Regions from separate parts of the Homo sapiens genome. Here regions 1, 2, 4, 5 and 6 are each linked to region 3. Evidence: promoter capture Hi-C in 16 types of primary human blood cells and fetal thymus (Javierre and others, 2016). All regions are on one chromosome and are shown on one strand. Each heading gives the region's core, a stretch centred on a gene start or on the middle of the fragment in contact. The rest is flanking DNA. Distances are from core to core; before and after follow the strand shown.

Evidence for each region. The method cuts DNA at HindIII sites, captures the fragments that hold promoters and counts their contacts. A CHiCAGO score of 5 or more calls a contact.
Region 1: a fragment that was not itself captured here is called in contact with the fragment with the promoter of CCL20 in region 3 in 2 of 17 cell types (M2 macrophages and M0 macrophages); the score reaches 5.5 in M2 macrophages.
Region 2: a fragment that was not itself captured here is called in contact with the fragment with the promoter of CCL20 in region 3 in 3 of 17 cell types (M2 macrophages, M1 macrophages and M0 macrophages); the score reaches 10.8 in M2 macrophages.
Region 4: a fragment that was not itself captured here is called in contact with the fragment with the promoter of CCL20 in region 3 in 1 of 17 cell types (M1 macrophages); the score reaches 6.2 in M1 macrophages.
Region 5: a contact is called between a fragment that was not itself captured here and the fragment with the promoter of CCL20 in region 3, in 1 of 17 cell types (M2 macrophages). The highest score is 6.0, in M2 macrophages.
Region 6: a fragment that was not itself captured here is called in contact with the fragment with the promoter of CCL20 in region 3 in 1 of 17 cell types (M0 macrophages); the score reaches 6.4 in M0 macrophages.

The regions. Positions count from the first base shown.
Region 1 is chr2:229,241,905-229,244,774 of GRCh38, forward strand. All of the region lies in intron 1 of PID1 (phosphotyrosine interaction domain containing 1), which reads right to left. Among named protein-coding and RNA genes, the nearest start is that of PID1, 28 kb to the right of the region's middle. The HindIII fragment of the contact is 3,298 bases long and covers 1-2,870 here.
Region 2 is chr2:229,417,534-229,420,433 of GRCh38, forward strand. DNER (delta/notch like EGF repeat containing) reads right to left here. Exons shown (of 13, transcript NM_139072.4): 9 at 575-697. Among named protein-coding and RNA genes, the nearest start is that of PID1, 150 kb to the left of the region's middle. The HindIII fragment of the contact is 2,816 bases long and covers 218-2,900 here.
Region 3 is chr2:227,812,391-227,815,154 of GRCh38, forward strand. CCL20 (C-C motif chemokine ligand 20) reads left to right here and starts at 1,452. Exons shown (of 4, transcript NM_004591.3): 1 at 1,452-1,597. The coding sequence starts at 1,522. The HindIII fragment of the contact is 16,817 bases long and covers 1-2,764 here.
Region 4 is chr2:229,355,591-229,358,742 of GRCh38, forward strand. It overlaps DNER (delta/notch like EGF repeat containing), which reads right to left. Exons shown (of 13, transcript NM_139072.4): 13 at 2,039-3,061. The coding sequence ends at 2,950. Among named protein-coding and RNA genes, the nearest start is that of PID1, 86 kb to the left of the region's middle. The HindIII fragment of the contact is 2,359 bases long and covers 518-2,876 here.
Region 5 is chr2:229,391,580-229,394,655 of GRCh38, forward strand. The region is part of intron 10 of DNER (delta/notch like EGF repeat containing); the gene reads right to left. Among named protein-coding and RNA genes, the nearest start is that of PID1, 120 kb to the left of the region's middle. The HindIII fragment of the contact is 938 bases long and covers 994-1,931 here.
Region 6 is chr2:229,263,694-229,266,686 of GRCh38, forward strand. The region is part of intron 1 of PID1 (phosphotyrosine interaction domain containing 1); the gene reads right to left. Among named protein-coding and RNA genes, the nearest start is that of PID1, 6.1 kb to the right of the region's middle. The HindIII fragment of the contact is 3,782 bases long and covers 1-2,993 here.

The DNA of each region.
Region 1 (2,870 bases), core at 162-2,661, 1.4 Mb after region 3:
ATAAGTACCCTTTTTCTCCCTTGTAAAATACTAGTAACTAGTAACTAGTAACACAGTACCTCTTAAGCACAGCATCAGGTACAGAGCTATCACTCAGTAAATCAGTGTTTTTGTTTTTGTTTTTGTTTTTGTTTTTGTTTTTGAGATGGGATCTCACTACATCATTATTTCACCCAGGCTTTTCTCAAGCTCCTGAAACTCAAATGATCCTCTGGCCTTGGCCTTCCAAGTAGCTGAGATTACAGGTGGGAGCCACCATGCCTGGCTAGTAAATAGCTATTTTTAAAGTCAGAGACCTCTACCTCTAGATCATGAGGTGGAAAAATATTTAATCCAACAACTAAAATAGAGTTTTCCTGTTCTGCCTAATTAGAGGCCAGCTAAAATCAAAACTCACAGCACTTGCTATGACTCAGCTCACTCCATATAATAAGAACTGCATGTCCACAAGCTAAAATATAGCTTAGTTATAGGTCCAAAAGAAAAACCCGTGATTCTACACCCACCCTATCCCACTGCCACCTGAAATATGCTGCTTCGACTGGTAAAACTGGCTGACTCCATATCTGGCCTCATGCTCCACTCAGCTGCCTACACTAGGAACCTCAGGACTCTCCTCTACATTTCCCGTCCTCTCTAATCAGCTGTCAACCCATTCTGCCTCTTCACCCTCACTCAAAACCTCTGCCACCTCCTCAACCCCAAAGTCACTGCTTTAGATGACATCTTCATCCCCTTTTGCCTGTACCATTTCCAACAGCCTCCTTAAAACATTTCCCTGCTTGCAATACATTTTCTATACCACCAACAGAATCATCTTAAAACCAATCTGAGTCATTTGTTACCTATAAGCTCCCAATAGTTTCCCAGTGCCTAGAAAATGAAGTCCATGCTCAGTAACATCCTATAAAATGTTGTGCTATAGCCCAGTTGTGCTTCCATACTCTTTCACTCTAGTCCTTCTCCAACCCTTCAGCCTCATGTGATGTGCTCACTCTTGTCTGGAACAGCCTGAGTTCACAGCTCTGTGAAGATTCTTCCCTATGCCTAGGGTAATCTTCTCTACCTACCAAATGCCTATTCATCCTTATATTAGTCCATTCTCACGTTGCTGATAAAGATATACCCAAGACTGGGCAATGTACAAAAGAAAGAGGTTTAATGGACTAACAGTTCCACATGGCTGGGGAGGCCTCACAATCATGGTGGAAGGCAAGGAGAAGCAAGTCACATCTTACATGGATGGCAGCAGGCAGAGAGAGCTTATGCAGGGAAAGTACCATTTTTAAAGCCATCAGATCTCGTGAGATTTATTCACTATCATGAGAACAGCATGGGAAAGACTCACTCCCATGATTCAATTACTTCCCACTAGGTTCCTCCTACCACACATGGGAATTGTGGGAGTTACAATTCAAGATGAGATTTGGGTGGGGACAGAGCCAAACCATATCAATCCTTAAACAGGTTACATCGTCTTCTTTGTGAAGGGTTCCTTTCTAGGGCAAGGTTTATAATTCCCCACTCTGCTTTTATTATAGCACTGATTCTGCTGTACTGTAATTACTTATCCATAGGTCTATTGCGTCCTCAAGACTGCGCACTCCCAGAAGACAATGACAATGCCTGGTATAGTACCTGGCTCAGAGTAGGTGCTCAAGAAACATTTGTTGAATTAATAAATGAATATCACCTTTAAAAAAATTTTCTGTAGCTAACATTCTACAGGTACGTGGCATTTGAATATGAAGCCCAAAGATGAAAAACAAGAATGAAACAAAGTATCTGCCTCACAGTAAATCCCACCACCCAAGGGAACTAATCAAATAAAACAATAAATAAGGAGGCTTAGTATTAATCTCAATCATCTTTATCTGTATTCCTCCAATACCAAGAGAAATGAAACTCATGTATTTTTACACAAAGTTACATCTACACCATTCAAAGCCCAATTTAGTAACTCTCAGCTTTTCCTAGCTCATACATTTTTGTTATAATGCTTTCTTTTCAGATCATCTAAGTTTTTTTAAAAAATCATCTTATCTTGGTTTTTGTCAAGCAAAGGTTAATATTGGATACTTTAATCACAAAACTCATGTTTGGCACTGGGTCTTGGCAGAAAGCCCCACGTGTAATTTCTCTGGGACTAAATTACTCATTTCTAATATAAACATAAGAATAAAGCAAAAACTAGCATTATGTAAACAAAATATGTTATTTTTTAGTTCTCAACTGAAAACTCATGCAACCTCATTTAACCACTATTTCAATGAGACATGGGATTTTAATGTGACACAAGACAAACCAGGATCCCTTGTTAAGCAGTCAGCATAGTCCAAAAGAACCCCATACCCAGTAGCCTTTTTCCAGTCAAATTTTTAAGCAGTCTGGTTTCATTTTTTCCAAATACAGAACCAAGTATCCCTGATTCTTATCGTCATCCAAACAACTGCAACCAGCTGTGAAAACTAGAACTAGGAATCAAGTCTGTCTATAGGGAGTCCCCTCAAAGCTACTAAGCATGACTGTTTTCATCAACAAATATTCATGACCCTATTTTCCAAAATTCCAACTCTGCCAACCATTTCATTTTAAAAAGAGAGAAAGCAAATGAGACAGAAAGAGAGATTCAATCCTTTAAAATCCTTTAATTTTTCTTCCTTTCAACTCAGTCAAAATTAGGTAACCTCTCATAAGAAAGTTAATTATCTTCTCCTCTTTTGGGATTTTATTTTGTAACCCCCCAAATAATGCATTTATTACAAACACAAGATACCTCTTCTATTGCCACAATCCTCACATATTATCTAATCTGCAAAAGCAATTCCCTACTTTGTTAAAAGTAAAACCATGGACTCTTCCTTTCCCAT
Region 2 (2,900 bases), core at 376-2,875, 1.6 Mb after region 3:
TGACCAGGCTTATAGGGGAAGAGCATTACTGTCCACCTCATAGGGTTCTCGGGGGGATTTAGTGAGCTATGCACATTAGGGGTTAGAACGGGGTCCACACATTGGAAACACTCTGTCAATGTCGCCTGTTTTTAATAAGCATTAACTTACTTGCTGATACATGGGACTCCGCCTGCCTCCTCCCCAAGAAAGCACAGCATTCTATCTCTGCATAAGAAGCTTTATAGGACGGCATCCTTCCTCTTCCACAGTTTTCACAGCCATGGTCTCTAACCTATGTCTGACAGTCCATCTTAATATTACTTTTTGTTTTCAGCTTTTTACACATTCAATAAAAAAGAAAGCGAGGATCCACAAAGAACAGGACAGGAAAGGGGGTTGTTTCTCAATCTATCAGGAAGAAACCAGAGACTTGCAAATTGGTCTCCTTGGACCGATTAATCATGCCAGCTTCAGCATTTGATTGTTATTCTGAACAATTCATGGTCCAATTAGAGGTTTATGCATTTACACTGAGAAATACATGACGTCATTTAGAGCCATTCTGGCACAGGAAGGCCAGGCGGCCTCTCACCTTTGTATTCTGCCAGGCACACACACTCATAGCCATTAACGAGGTCCCTGCAGGTGGCTGCATTCAGGCATGGAGCGGAGAGGCACTCATTATATTCCTCCTCACAGTAGAGGCCATGGTAACCTGAGGGACAGAGAGAAAGGCCCACTGTCAAATGCATCCCATTTACAACCCACGCGGGACCAGCCTGCAAGGAAGGCAGTTGGGGGTATTCATTAGAAAGTATGGTATAAACAGATGGGATTTCAGGAGCTAGATCTCTTGGGGTAAAGTTGAAAGGTGGATTTGGGGGAAGGCTATGAAGAAAGCGCCTGTTCTTATCACACTTTTTCATGATCCCAAGTATAAAAGAAGTGATTCCATTTATCCACTGACATTTTCATCATAGTGCATCCAACAGTGCTGGTGTTAGGGTGATCCAGTCACTGAGTGTGTCTGCTGTGGCCATCAGAGATAGTGAATGAGCAGGATTTACGGCAGGGGAGGAGCAAACAGCTCCCTTCAAGAGTGAGAACCTGGCTCGGTGTGGTGGCTCATGCCACCACAAAGTGCTGGTAATCCCAGCACTTTGGGATACCGAGGCAGGTTGATCACTTGAGCTCAGGAGTTCGAGACCAGCCTGGCCAACATGGTGAAACTCTGTCTCTACTAAAAATACAAAAAATTAGCCAGGCGTGGTGGCGGGCGCCTGTAATCCCAGCTACTCAGTAGGCTGAGGCAGGAGAATCACTTGAACCTGGGAGGCAGAGGTTGCAGTGAGCCAAGATTGTACCACTGCACTCCAGCCTGGGCGACAAGAGCAAAACTCCATCTCAAAAAAAAAACAAAAGAAAACAAAAAGTGTGAGAGCCACATTAGAAAAGTATATCTGTATTTCCTTTTCAAGTCAGAAAAGAAAATTAGCTCAAAATGCTTAACTGAAATTATTGATGAAATGTGAGGGTATTTTTGTTGTTATTGCTTGTTTAAAGATATGATTATATAAATTATAATATTTTAAATTGTACCTAAATGTTTAAATTACTAAAGAAATAATCATGTGAGTGAAGAGAAAATAAACCCACAATTTCTTGATAAAGTGGATTTTACCCTCCTATTTGCAAAACAGGTGTTTATTCTAAAGGACAAGAAGACAACATTCTTTGAGATTCATTCATGAGGGTTATGCTGTTTTCAACTTTTGAAAACATGTGTTACTGCCAATTTGCAGTGAAACCAGGCCATTTTTGTCCAGCCCTGTCCAAACAATGAAAAACATGTGAGTGTTTTCAAAAGTCACACTGACTGTGTTCGTTCTGAATTCAGATAAGCAGAAAAAATAAGCCCTTATCCAAGTAGGAATTAGAACTACTAGCTTTTCCCTAGCCTTTCCAGCTCACAACCAACTCTCAAACTCAGAAAGTCCCATTAGAACATGCTAATATGTTGAACTGCTTTGTTTCTTGTGCCTATCATAAAAGTAGGTTAAGCTCATATTTGCATTATTAACAGAGCACTTTTCAAATATGTTGCCATTTCAGTTGTTTTTGAACAGCTTTCCAAATTTAGGTTGTGATAATGGCCCCTTTGAGGAGCCCTTGACCTACCTAAGACAAATATACTATAGTTTTCAATTCTTCTGAAAAGTAGTATGTTACCCTACTTTTTGTAACTTTAGGGAAATATTTCTATTACCCTTCATTAGATTATTTTCATCATGTAGATAAGAGGTACTCAACTAGCAGCAATTTTGTCCCCCAAAGGACATTTGAAAATGTTTGGAGACATTTTTCGTTGTCACAACTGGAGGCAGGGGGAGGGGTTGCTGCTGGCATCTAGTAGGCAGAGTCAAGAGTGCTGCTAAGCATCCTACAGTTCTACAGGAGGCTGCGCAGGACAGCCTCTCACAACAAGACTATCCAGAAAAAAATAACAATACAGCCAGGTTGAGAAACTCTGTTCTAGACCAGGGGTCAGCAAACTATGGCCCACAGATGAAATCTATCCCAGCCTGTTTTTGCAAATAAAGTTTTATTGGGACACAGCCACAGTCATGCATTTACATATTGTCTATGGCCGTTTTAACACTACAACAGAGGACTGAGTGGTTGCAACAGAGACCATATGGCCTGCAAAGCCTAAATATTTACTGTCTGGCCCTTTGCGCAGAACAAGTTTGCTGATTCTTGATTTAGATTCAATGAAAGATCTTTCTTTTAACAAGAGTTTTGGATATTAACCCCTTATCAAATGTATTGTTTGCAAATATTTTCTGCCATTCCATAGGTCACCTTTTCATGCTGTTGATTGTTCCTTTGTTATGCAGAACCTTTTAAGTTTGAAGCAC
Region 3 (2,764 bases), core at 202-2,701:
TAGTGAAAATGTGGTACCAAAGCTGTCAACTTTTATTGTTAAATTTCCTATTCTGCTGGGCACGGTGGCTCATGCCTGTAATGAGGTCAGGAGTTCAGCCTGGGCAACATGGTGAAACCACGTCTCTACTAAAAATACAAAAATTCGCTGGGCGTGGTGGCACGTGCCTGTAGTCCCAGCTACTCAGGAGGCTGAGGCAGGCGAATCGCTTGAACCCAGGAGGCGGAGGTTGTAGTGAGCCGAGATGGTGCCACTGCACTCCAGCCTGGGCAACAAGAGCAAAATTCTGTCTCAAAAGAAATTATAATAATAAAATAAAATAAAATTTCCTATTCTTCCCTTCAATTCTGTCAGTTTTTGCTTTCTGTAGTTTGGGGTGCTACTGTTAGGTATATATATGGTTATAGGTTTTACATCTTCCCAATGGGTTAATTTTGTGTTACCATGAAAGTCCCTTTTTATTTCCGGTAACATTAAAAAAAAATCTATTTTGTCTGATATAGGCATCACCAACTCCAGTTCTCTTTTGTTTACTGTTTGGTATACCTTTCTTTTGATCCTTTTACTTTCAACCTATTTGGGTCTAGTGGAGAGTTCTTATACTGCCTTAGGTTAGGGATTCATATTACATTATCATCATTAGTACTGTTATTTGACATTTGCTGTGCTGACTAGCTACTGCTGATAGGTTTTCTTTCCTCAACAATTCTGAGGCTCTATATTGAGTTATATTAGTACATCATCATGGAGAGTTAAAGGTAGGTAAGGATTATTTTCTGAACTGCAATATTGATTAAAGCCATGTGAATGTATAAGATTCTTAGAAGAGTTGACATTAAATCAAGGTGAAGCTGAGGTTTGAGCCTTACTTAAAGGCTGATATTTTCCACTCTAACTGCGGACAGTACTGTAGCACTGTTATAGTACCTGCTCTGAATGTTAGTCTAGCAACTCAGGGTCTTCTTCATGACAGCTGAACCTCAACCATGTGATGGTAAATGTGTAGCAGAGTATGCCTGGCATCCCACCTGCTCCTCCTCCCCCTCCTCCTTGACTGGTTCTGGAAAGCAAATAGGGTGTAACAATAGGAGTTCTGGAATGTTCCTGTGTGGGGCTGACCTTTGTATCGCTGTTAATCCTCTATTTTCAGACACAAAAATGATTAAGTTAAAACTGGATGAAAGTCTTTTCTGGGTCACAGGGCTGAGCTGCTTTTGCTCTTTGCAAATACAAAGAATTTAACAGGATTCTCCCCTTCTCAACTTCCTGTCCCCCACCCTGACCTTCGCACCTTCCCAATATGAGGAAAAAGCAGGAAGTTTTCCTTGCGGGTTTTTTTTATGATGACATGATGGGGCCAGTTGATCAATGGGGAAAACCCCATGTGGCAACACGCCTTCTGTGTACATTCCCAATATTTGCTATAAATAGGGCCATCCCAGGCTGCTGTCAGAATATAACAGCACTCCCAAAGAACTGGGTACTCAACACTGAGCAGATCTGTTCTTTGAGCTAAAAACCATGTGCTGTACCAAGAGTTTGCTCCTGGCTGCTTTGATGTCAGTGCTGCTACTCCACCTCTGCGGCGAATCAGAAGGTAAGTGTCGCTCTTTCCGCTAGCACAGAAGAAAGACTATTTTCATTTTCCTTTTAGCCTTGAGCTCAACTGGGGGTCCCTAAGGGATGGAAAACTGTTAGGAAGTATACAAGAGGTAGTGATGGAAGTTGTCTGCCCATGGTGGAGTGGAGGAGAGAAGAGTTACTGCTGCGGATCAGGCTTTCCTCTCTGCTGTCAATCTCAGCAGATTTGGGGAGTGGTGGGCTCTTAGAGATCCCTAAACTTCAGGATAAAGCCAAAGTGATGTTTCTGGGAGTGATATAAAGTGTGTAATGTTACCAGTAGATGGGGCCATTTTGAAATGTAGAGAATCCTCCTGTGTCCCCAACTTTCGTACCTCCCAACTTAATAGTTTTGGTAAAGTTCAAAACTCATCCTTTAGAAGTAGATTATAATACCTGACATCAACATCCCCACAAGGCATGGGGGACATTGCTTGCCAACTTTAAAATAACATTAATCCCTTACCTTACAGCATGTTGTAATCTGACTCGGGAATGTCCAAGTATTGCTTTATTGCTCAATAGTCACACAACACTTTTAGCAACAGGTGCATTCCTAAAAATGCACATTGAATTTTTTTTTTTTTCTGAGGCAGGGTCTAACTTCATCACCCAGGCCAGAGTGCAGTGGCATGATTACAGCTCACTACAGCCTCAACCTCCTGGAGTCAAGTGAACCTCCAGTCTCAGCCTCTTGAATAACAGGGACCACGGCCGTGTGCCACTCACCTGGCTAATTTTTTTACATTTTTTTTTTTTTTGTAGAGACAGGGTTTCACTGTGTTGCCCAGGCTGGTCTCGAACTCCTGGAGGCAAGCAATCCTTCCTCCTTGGCCTCCCAAAGTGCTGGGATTACAGGCATGAGCCACCATGCCCAACCACATGTTGAACTTTTATGAACAAAATTAAACATTCCTATTAATTAATAGGACAATTTCAAAGTGTTTTCACTCCTATAAATCATATTTCCCTTTGTAGCTCTATTTCTCAATACTTAGTAGCCAGATAATAGATTAAAATCTGCCAATTTATTCATTTTCTGCTTTTGGAAGTTTATCTACATAAGGGTTCCTTCAAGCAGTAGGGAAGGGGCTGCTCATATTCTTGAATGATTATAGTGAACTGAAATGAAATATTGTCAATT
Region 4 (3,152 bases), core at 447-2,946, 1.5 Mb after region 3:
GAATGAGCTGGAGACACTGCTGTACCATTTCTAGATGGCAGGGATCCCTGTCATTACATGTAGTTGCTTTGGCTTGTGAAGACTCACATATTAGAGAACTAATTATGGCTACACTGAGTTATAAGACCACCATCAGTTCAAGAATTCTGGAGTAGTAGTTAACTCTGGCTTATCAAGTACTATTTTCACAGCTAGTGCAAAGTAACAACTTGAGACGGTGGAGTTTTGACACCCTTAGAGAATGTGCTCCCTGCTCTAGAAGGACTATTCCTCACACATATCACAATGTACTAACTGCAGATCCCAATCATTAATCATAAAAGCGAGGGTACTATCCTACTTTGTGATCATGTCTGAATGTAAAACAAGAACAGCAGCAACAACAACAATAGCTAACGTGCTGAATCTTGGTGGGCGCTGGAGGGAGGCTAAGTGATACACACACAGTCTGGCATCCAATGCTCACAACGATTCTTCAAGGGAGGCCCTATCATGATCCCCATTTTTCAAATTTTGAAGCTTAGACCCAGAGAGCTACTTGTCCAAAGTCATTACCAAGTAAACAATTGAAGTAAGGTTTTAATCTACTCTGCTACAAATAAGCTGCCCTATAGTGGAGTTTACCTTTCCTTCATGGTGCTCTATGAAGTGTAATTCTATATTTATTTGTTTGTTAGATGAAGGTCTGGTTCAAAACAAGCTATAAGCTCGGGAGGCAGGATCCTCTGGTAGGGCTCTTGTCGGTCAGCATCTGCCTGACAAAGAATAAGTGCTCGATGAGATGAATTCTTATCATTGAATGTCCAAATGAATGAGCAAATGTCTTTAGATATATTTGGTGGCCACTCTCAGATGGTCAGAAGGCTCTGCCCAAGATCTGAATTTGCAAGCTCCATTAATTGGCTTTCAAGGGACAAACTGTGATTGATAAAAGACTTTAGTTTTTTAAACAAGTCCTTTAAGAGACATCGCATATAATGAATTTAAGACTTTGGGAGATTGAAAATGATTTCAGAGGGTGTGATTGAAGCAGCTTGCAAATGAAGACCAATAAGCAAAAAAGACACGGAGGCTCAGACAATGTCCAGGTGCTCGTGGGGGTCAAGAGGCAAATGGAGTACAACTCACACCTTTTCATGGCCCTCTCCTATCATCGATCAAGAAGTGTCTGAGCAACACACAACCAAAGGGTCTTTTATAGGAAGATGGGAGTAAGTATGTCTGCACAACACTCTGCTGCATGTTCCCATGACTGTTTAACCAACCAAGTTAATATTTTGTACTTACCTTACTTCCACTTAACTGAAAATATTAATGTATTGCACTGTATCATTTAATAATCAGAATGTGGGTGTACTGCTGTGTCATTTGTAGGATTAGGAACAGATGTTTTGAGGGTAGAGCGGGAAGGAAAAGAACCTTAAATAATTCTTTTTGCTTAAAACTCTCCCTCACACCTGGTTCCAGGACTCCTCTTGGCCTTACCTGACGTTCCTGTGTACAGTTAAAAATGCATTTTTAAAAATAACTCTGGGACTTCAGAGCAGCATTTGGATACAAAATGGAACTGAATATAGGGTGGCTCTAAACGGCCTTCAAGTTTCTAAGAACCATGGAGCTATTTGCTAAGGCAATTTCATTTAGCCTCCACAGGATAGCAGCGCCTCCACAGGATAGCAGCACGCAAGGTATTTCTTGAGGCCACAGGTGCCTGCCCTCAATGCCTGGAAGCATCTCCGGATTCCAGTGTGCCCACCGTTCACTTGTGCTGCATTTCACTGGCAAATTCGGATATAAAACTTCAGATAAGAATTCTTATTTTTTTTCCACACTTCACACTGACAAGCAGCTAGGGTGAGCTTACTGACAATTAGGAGGTCAGAAAGCCTTGCAGAGGCAAAGGAGGGGGCTCCGGCAGCCACAGAGGTGCACTCCTCAGGTTATTTAATATGGTATCAACCATGGGATTGTTTGGCAAACAATATCACATCCAAAACTTTTTATATATAGTTTTCAAAGAACAAAAGAGACAACTGCATCCTTGACTTGATCACATTTATTCAATATGGTTGGAAATTAGCAAGAATCAGAAGAAGCACATATCAATCAAATACAGCCACAAAAACATCCTGGAGATAAATAAAGCTGCACTATGAGAAATACTCACTACTGAAGGAACCAGTACTCTCTTACATTTACTACCTCTTAGCAACAAACAACTCAAATGTAAATTTAATTTACTCACAATATAGAACCCTTGACTTTTTAAAGAAAAATATAGATTCAAATCAATCAGAATTTGCCTCGCTAGGCCTTTTCGTTACGTATGTTTTTGAGGCCTAGTTCGACGACTGTTACGAAAATGACAAAAACAAACTCGAAAGAATGTTTCCACAAAGTTCAACAAAACAGTGCAGAAATAAGTTACTTACCCATGCACAGAATAAGGCAAAGGCTAATTTCATTCGGGTTAGGAATAGTAAATTTAACTAGTTTCTTTTCCACAAAACGAACATTTCAGACTTCTTTTTAAGTAACGGGTATACTCTATTATACATCATATGCTACGTTACGTGGTTTTCCTAACTCTACTCAGAAAGCCGGCACTCAAACGTCAAACAGAAACTTCTCCTTGATTAGACTTATTCTGTAACAACCACAGAAATTAATCTGGGTCTCGTGATAGTGTCTACAGTGAAAAGAGCACACACTAGTAGAAGCACACAGTTTAGAGAGCTGAAGGTACATTAAAACATCGTCTATAGGTTTCACAAATTTTGTTTTTAAAATATTTTTTCCAAACTAAAAGCTGCAGAAAATTAGTTCTTAAATATTCTACTGAAAACTCTTGAGCAGCTAGCATTTTAAATTTCTTAAGCTTTTTATTTTCTTAAAAATATTTAAATGAGTGTAGTATCTCATCTTTTTGAAAAATAATCCAAAAAAAGATTACAAATCTTTAGTTTTAATCAGTGTGACCAAGGGTTTGTCATCAGGACTGTAATCTTCATAGGCGATGGGGCTCACATCATACATTGCAGGCCGGGATTTCTTTCCAAACCTGAAATCAGAGAGAAAGGACTCTGGTTAGATAAATACTAGATCTCAAGTTTAATTAAAGCAAGTGATGAGAATAATTTATATGCATGAAT
Region 5 (3,076 bases), core at 213-2,712, 1.6 Mb after region 3:
CACCCAGGCTTGAGTGCAGTGGCACAATCTCGGCTCACTGCAACCTCCGCCTCCCAGGTTCAAGCGATTCTCCTGCCTCAGCCTCCCCAGTAGCTGGGATTACAGGCGTGTGCCACCATGCCCAGTGAATTTTTTGTATTTTTAGTAGAGACGGGGTTTCACCATGTTGCCCAGGCTGATCTTGAACTCCTGACCTCAGGTGATCTGCCCACCTCACCCTCCCAAAGTGCTAGGATTACAGGCATGAGCCACCATGCCCAGCCAAATTTTTTTTCAATGTACTACCTTCTGTGAGGCAATATGTAAGTACAGTGGGTATCACATTTGGTAGTACTTATGTAGATTTACAAGCATACTGATTCTGCTTGCTTTCCTTGGGTAAATTAAGAAATGCAAAAAGACAAAACCATCCAAAGTCACCGCTGTTAGTAAATCCTTGGGTTAACAGAGTCCCCACTAAAAGATATTGATGACAATTACTATAATCATAATATCTAGTATTAAATATATGCCTCCTACATGCCAGGCACTGATTGGGTGCTTTGACTATAAATCTTTCATATACTTCACTAAGAGTTTATTCAAGATAAAGTGAGTTTTAAAAATTATTTCTAACTTTTTTTTATCATGATGGAATAACTGGCACCTGTCTTGCCTTCCCACTGTAAACAACTAGACAACTAGATGAAATATATGAAAAAAAAAAAAAACTATGAAGACATTGGACAACAGGAAGTCCATGACTGTGATTGCTGCAAGAAGGGAAATAAAACAGCTGAGCACCACAATCATTCTGGCTTTCTTCCTGGAATTAATTTAGAACACAGTGGTTTCACTGGCTTGAGGAGACAAAGATCAGAGTGTGTGGAGGCCAAGGTAGCTGTAATTTGTAGGAAAGACCACAACACAAGATAGAACCACTCAGAAATTGAGCACCAGAAATCTGCTGCATCCCGTAGGCTGTTGCTGAAGACGTGTGTGTGTGTAACTTGAAGCTTGGCAAACAAAATGACAGATGAGCAGTTCCCAAACTCACAGAGGACTGAGAAATATTCAGATTTGCACTGCCAGAGTGGAACTATTTAATGGATTACCCAGTACAGTCAGTGAAGCCACAAAAGATCACACCTTAGTAATGGGGCACAACTATCCCTAGAGTAAGGCTACTCTACATTCACCTCCCCAAAATGTACAACAAACCTTGAAAGGATTAATTAGGTCAGCAAGTTACTTACCTGACACAAAAAAAGTCCATTACTTTTTTTAAAAAAGACAATAAAATCCAATCACTCAACAACTTAATCCACAATGACCATCATTCAAACAAAAATTATTAGACATGCAACAAAGTAGGCTCACGTGACCCATAACTGCATGAAAATCAGTCAAAAGACACAAATTCAGAAACAATGGATGAGAGCTAGCAGACAAAAAATGTGTTCAAAATGTGAAATAAAATATAAAAAACAATGAACAGAAACATGGAAAATAAAAAACAAGCCCAATGGAACTTTTAGATATGAAAAATACAATATCTGAAATTGTTTTTAGAACCCAATGGTCTTAATAGTAGACTAGTGACTCACACCTGTAATCCCAGCACTCTGGGAGTCTGAGGCGGGCTGATCACCTGAGGTCAGGAGTTCGAGACTAGCCTGGGCAACATGGCGAAACCCCGTCTCTACTAAAAATACAAAAATTAGCCAGGTGTGATGGCACATGCCTATAATCCCAACTACTCAGGAGGCTGAGGCAAGAGAATCTTGAACTAGGGATGCAGAGGTTGCAGTGAGCTGAGATCACGCCACTGTACTCCAGCCTGGGTGACAGAGTGAGACTCCGTCTCAAAAAAAATAAAAATAAAAATAAAAAAATAGTAGATTAGACACTGCAGAAGAAAATATTAGTAAAGTTGAAAACAGAACAATAGAAGCTTGACAAACTGAAACTCAGAAAGAAAAAAGACTTTTTAAAAAACTAAGTAGAAGCTGAGCACAGTGGCTCACACCTGTAATCCCAGCACTTTGGGAGGCTGAGGTGGGTGGATCACGAGGTCAGGAGATCGAGACCATCCTGGCTAACACGGTGAAACCCCGTCTCTACTAAAAATACAAAAAATTAGCCAGGCGTGGTGGCGGGCGCCTGTAGTCCCAGCTACTTAGGAGGCTGAGGCAGGAGAATGGCGTGAACCTGGGAGTTGGAGCTTGCAGTGAGCCGGGTTCATGCCACTGCACTCCAGCCTGGGCAACAGAGCGAGACTCCGTCTCAAAACAAAAACAAAAACAAAAACAAAAACAAAAACTAAGCAGAGACTCTGACCCATTGGACAATTTTAAGCAGTCTAACATAGATGTACTCAGAATCCTAGAGAAAGGATATGAGGCCAAAAATAATATTTAATAAATTAATGGCTAAAAATTTCCAAGTTTGATGAAAACTGTAACCACAGATTCAAGATGTGCAACAAACCCCAAGCAGGATAAACACAAGAAAACCACACACACACACATCATAGTGCAGAAGCGAAAGCAACTGCATCTTGGATACTGATTAACCCCAGTTCCAGGAATGCCTCTAAGGATTCCAGTTTATGTACTGTTCCTTGTACAAGAACAGATACTTACCATAAATCCTGCCCTTCGGTCAAAACAACCTTGATGTTATTGTACTTCGATTGTCCTGCACATCCCTTCTGAACCACCTCTCCCTCTGTGGATCATAAGCCTTGGGTCCGAAGGGTAATGGTGTGGGTGTGGGGATCCGCCATCTTGTTTCCCCACTGCCCAAGACACAGACAGGCTTCTCTTCGTAAGTCCCTATTAAACATTTCTTTCTGATAAACTGGATATGTCAGCCTCTTTCTTCAGCCTCTCAGCTTCCTCAGACTTTGGGGGCAGGTTTGCAGAGGCCTGCAGGAGCTGAGAGACCAAGAAATGGGTAAAGGGAATGAAGCGTCTGTGTGGGTAATCCCAGGTGGCAGCCACTTCTATGTGGAGTGGTGTGGCTCACCTTTTAGACGCTTGTGTGTGGGTACAGGGACACCCCAAAAATGCCAGCGTCTTTAGAGTGACTTTTA
Region 6 (2,993 bases), core at 364-2,863, 1.5 Mb after region 3:
ATGAGACAACAAAATCTCTGTCCCTTAGAATTTTCTCAAGGATTAAATATGCTTTTCATATAAAACAAAATGTCTGCTCCATGACACAAGAGGCACAGTGCTTAGGAGTGCAGACCCTACAACCAGTCTGCTGGCTATGAACCCCAGCTCTACTGCCAAAGGCTGTTGGGAGGACAGGTCAGTGCTGGGAACACAGTAAATACTAAGAAAAAGGTGGCTGCTATTGTTATTATTACTGACACTACTACTAAATAAGCCTGCAATGAATGGTAGCTGACATTTCTTGATTTTCTCCATACTTGGAAATGAGTATGGCTGGAAAAGTAAAAATCACCAATAAAACCCAATTAAATGAGAGTCTGCTAGCAGCACTGCTGGAGTGGAAGGAAATGTTGCTTCTGGGACCCTGACCACAGCACCCCTTCTCTGTGCCCTGTTTGAGAATACTTGCCACGCTATATAACCTTCTAGCTGTGGATAGTTGGGAGCAAACATGCATTTGATGGCTTCTAGAACGGCTTCACTTATCTAAAATTTCTTTTGGAGGAGTGGACTCTCAACTCAGTAGTATACATGAAATTTCCCAATAGTCAACTTCAGCACGACTTCCCTTACTACATTTATAACATGAGAGAACTAACACTTCATCCTGACCTGGAGACCACCGCCTGGCAGAAACTAAAGGAGATATAAGAGGTATGTCAACTCAGACCATTTTCAGGATAGTCACACCCAGGCCTCTCTAAAACAGGGACCCAAGTGATCAAGGGCCACAAGGTATGTGGCCCCCAAGTCCCAGCCCAGCTCACCCATACCCTAACACCCACTATCATATATGAACCTCCATCATCTTCACCCCCAACTGTAAAGACAATTGCATTCTGTGCGTCGCACTTTCCTATACATTGAGAATAAAAGGAGCTTCCCCAAGTGAGGAGACAGAGACAAGTGGACAGTGAGCAGGTCATTAACATACTGGTTCTGGCTTATAAAGCTGAGCTAGCTAGGGATCTTCTTCATATGAACAGAAACACTGAAAGTTACAATCATACTAGGAAATATATATTAAGTCCAACTTTGAACAATAAGGAATAGGACCGTGAGTCCTCTAAGTTTACAACTATGCCCTTCTTCTCACCCTTCACCCACACCCAGCATAGTACTTGGGACGTAGTAGATGGACAAGAAAGATGGACAGAAGAGAAGACAGGAGCTTAGATCTAAACTCAACACTCCATTCCTACAGTGACCAACCATAACAACATTAAGAAGTGCTTCTGTTTATTGAGCACCTACTATACGCTACATACCAAAATCTCTGCAAAGCACATCTCTCTATTTTACAGATAGGGAAAGCAAAGCTCAGAGAAGTTACAAAACTGAAACATTGCTAGTAAGCGATTGTGTCAAAATTATTTATAAAGAGACAGATATGCTTTTTTTTCGTTATTTTTTTTTTACCCAAATGATTTCTTATTCAGGAAACAACCTGGCTAAGAAGGCCATTACTGGAGCCTCCCTTATCAAAGTAAGAACTCGGTTGAAACATAAGAGGGCAGAGGAATCCTGGGCCATCAGGCATGGGAAAGAAGACCTCAGCCAGATTATTGATCCACGTGGCATCAGCATTAAGTGGAAGAGCATGTCAAGATGCTGGAAGCATTGAAATATGCCAGTCACAAAACAAGTCTGTGTCTTTTCCCTGACACCTTCCTTTTGCAGTCTTTGGCCTCAAGGGTTGGACCTGGTGAATACACTGATGCTTTATCACTGATTAGCAGCTAAATAGGGATCACAACTTTTTTTTTAAGTGAACACAAAATGACAGTAGACTAATTCCACTAGACTTTAAGGAGGTCTTTGGACAAACGACTCAACTATTTCTTCTTGCTCTACTTATATAAAGCCTCTGTTTAAATTTGTGTCCACAGGGCTGAAAGAAGCACACTGCAGTCATTGAGTGTTCTGGACTAGTTTTATTTCCTGACCACTAACAAGTCCCTGAACTGCTGCTATTCACAGAATAAAATACCTTGTAGAAGGCAGCCTGATCTCCAGTACCCTTGAAGCTGTAAGGCTGATTCTCCCAGAGTCTCCTCCAAGGCTAATTTTCATGGTAGAATGGGGTCAGTGTGGAGGGGTATTGGTATGGGAGGGACCTAATCTGGAACATCAAACAAAATGCAAAAGTTGCCTAACACTCCAAGATAACTCAGTACAGTCAACACGAAACAGCCATTAGGCCATGGTTAAGCAAGGGGCACAGAGTTTGTTCCCAGGCTAGGATTTTGCAAATCGCTTGAAAGAGATTTGCTGACAAACTTGGAGAAAGACTCAATGATGTAAGATAGCATTTTATTCCTGAGGGAGACTAAGGCCCCGGATTAATGACAACTCCTAGTTTTCTTTATGAACAATAGGGCCCGATGTTTTGTGCTTACTCAACTACAATTGATGAAAACAACAACAAAATCTAGAATGGGTTTAGTGAGAAACCTGTGCCTCTGTAATAATAGCTGTTGCTTTTTTCTAAGCAACCGCTCTGAAAATCTCCAACCTCCTCCCTCCTTCTCCCCATTTTTTTTTTGTCTAAACTTGGAATGAATGTGTACACAATCCACCCTAATCACCGGCTTTCAAGGTCTCTAGTTTGGATAAATGCTATGTGCTTCAGCTGAAAAGCTCTTCAATGGCACTTGTGAATTTTAACTTCAATAGGAGACAGCAGCTTATGTGCCACCAAAGATTTGAGCCACCAAAAACAGAGTAGCCTTTGGTCAACCCACTGCTTCAGCAAGAAATAGGACAGCAGCCTCTCTGAGCCCACAAAACAGTCATTGCTCTAACTGTATTTATTAATAACAACAGCACCAACATGTACATTGCACTGTGCCTGTCTTATCCTTCTGCACTATGGTGAAGTGCTTAAGAAGTAAGGATTGGAACCAAACTGTCTGGTTCAAACTCCAGCTCAGTTCATTTCTAGCTGCTCA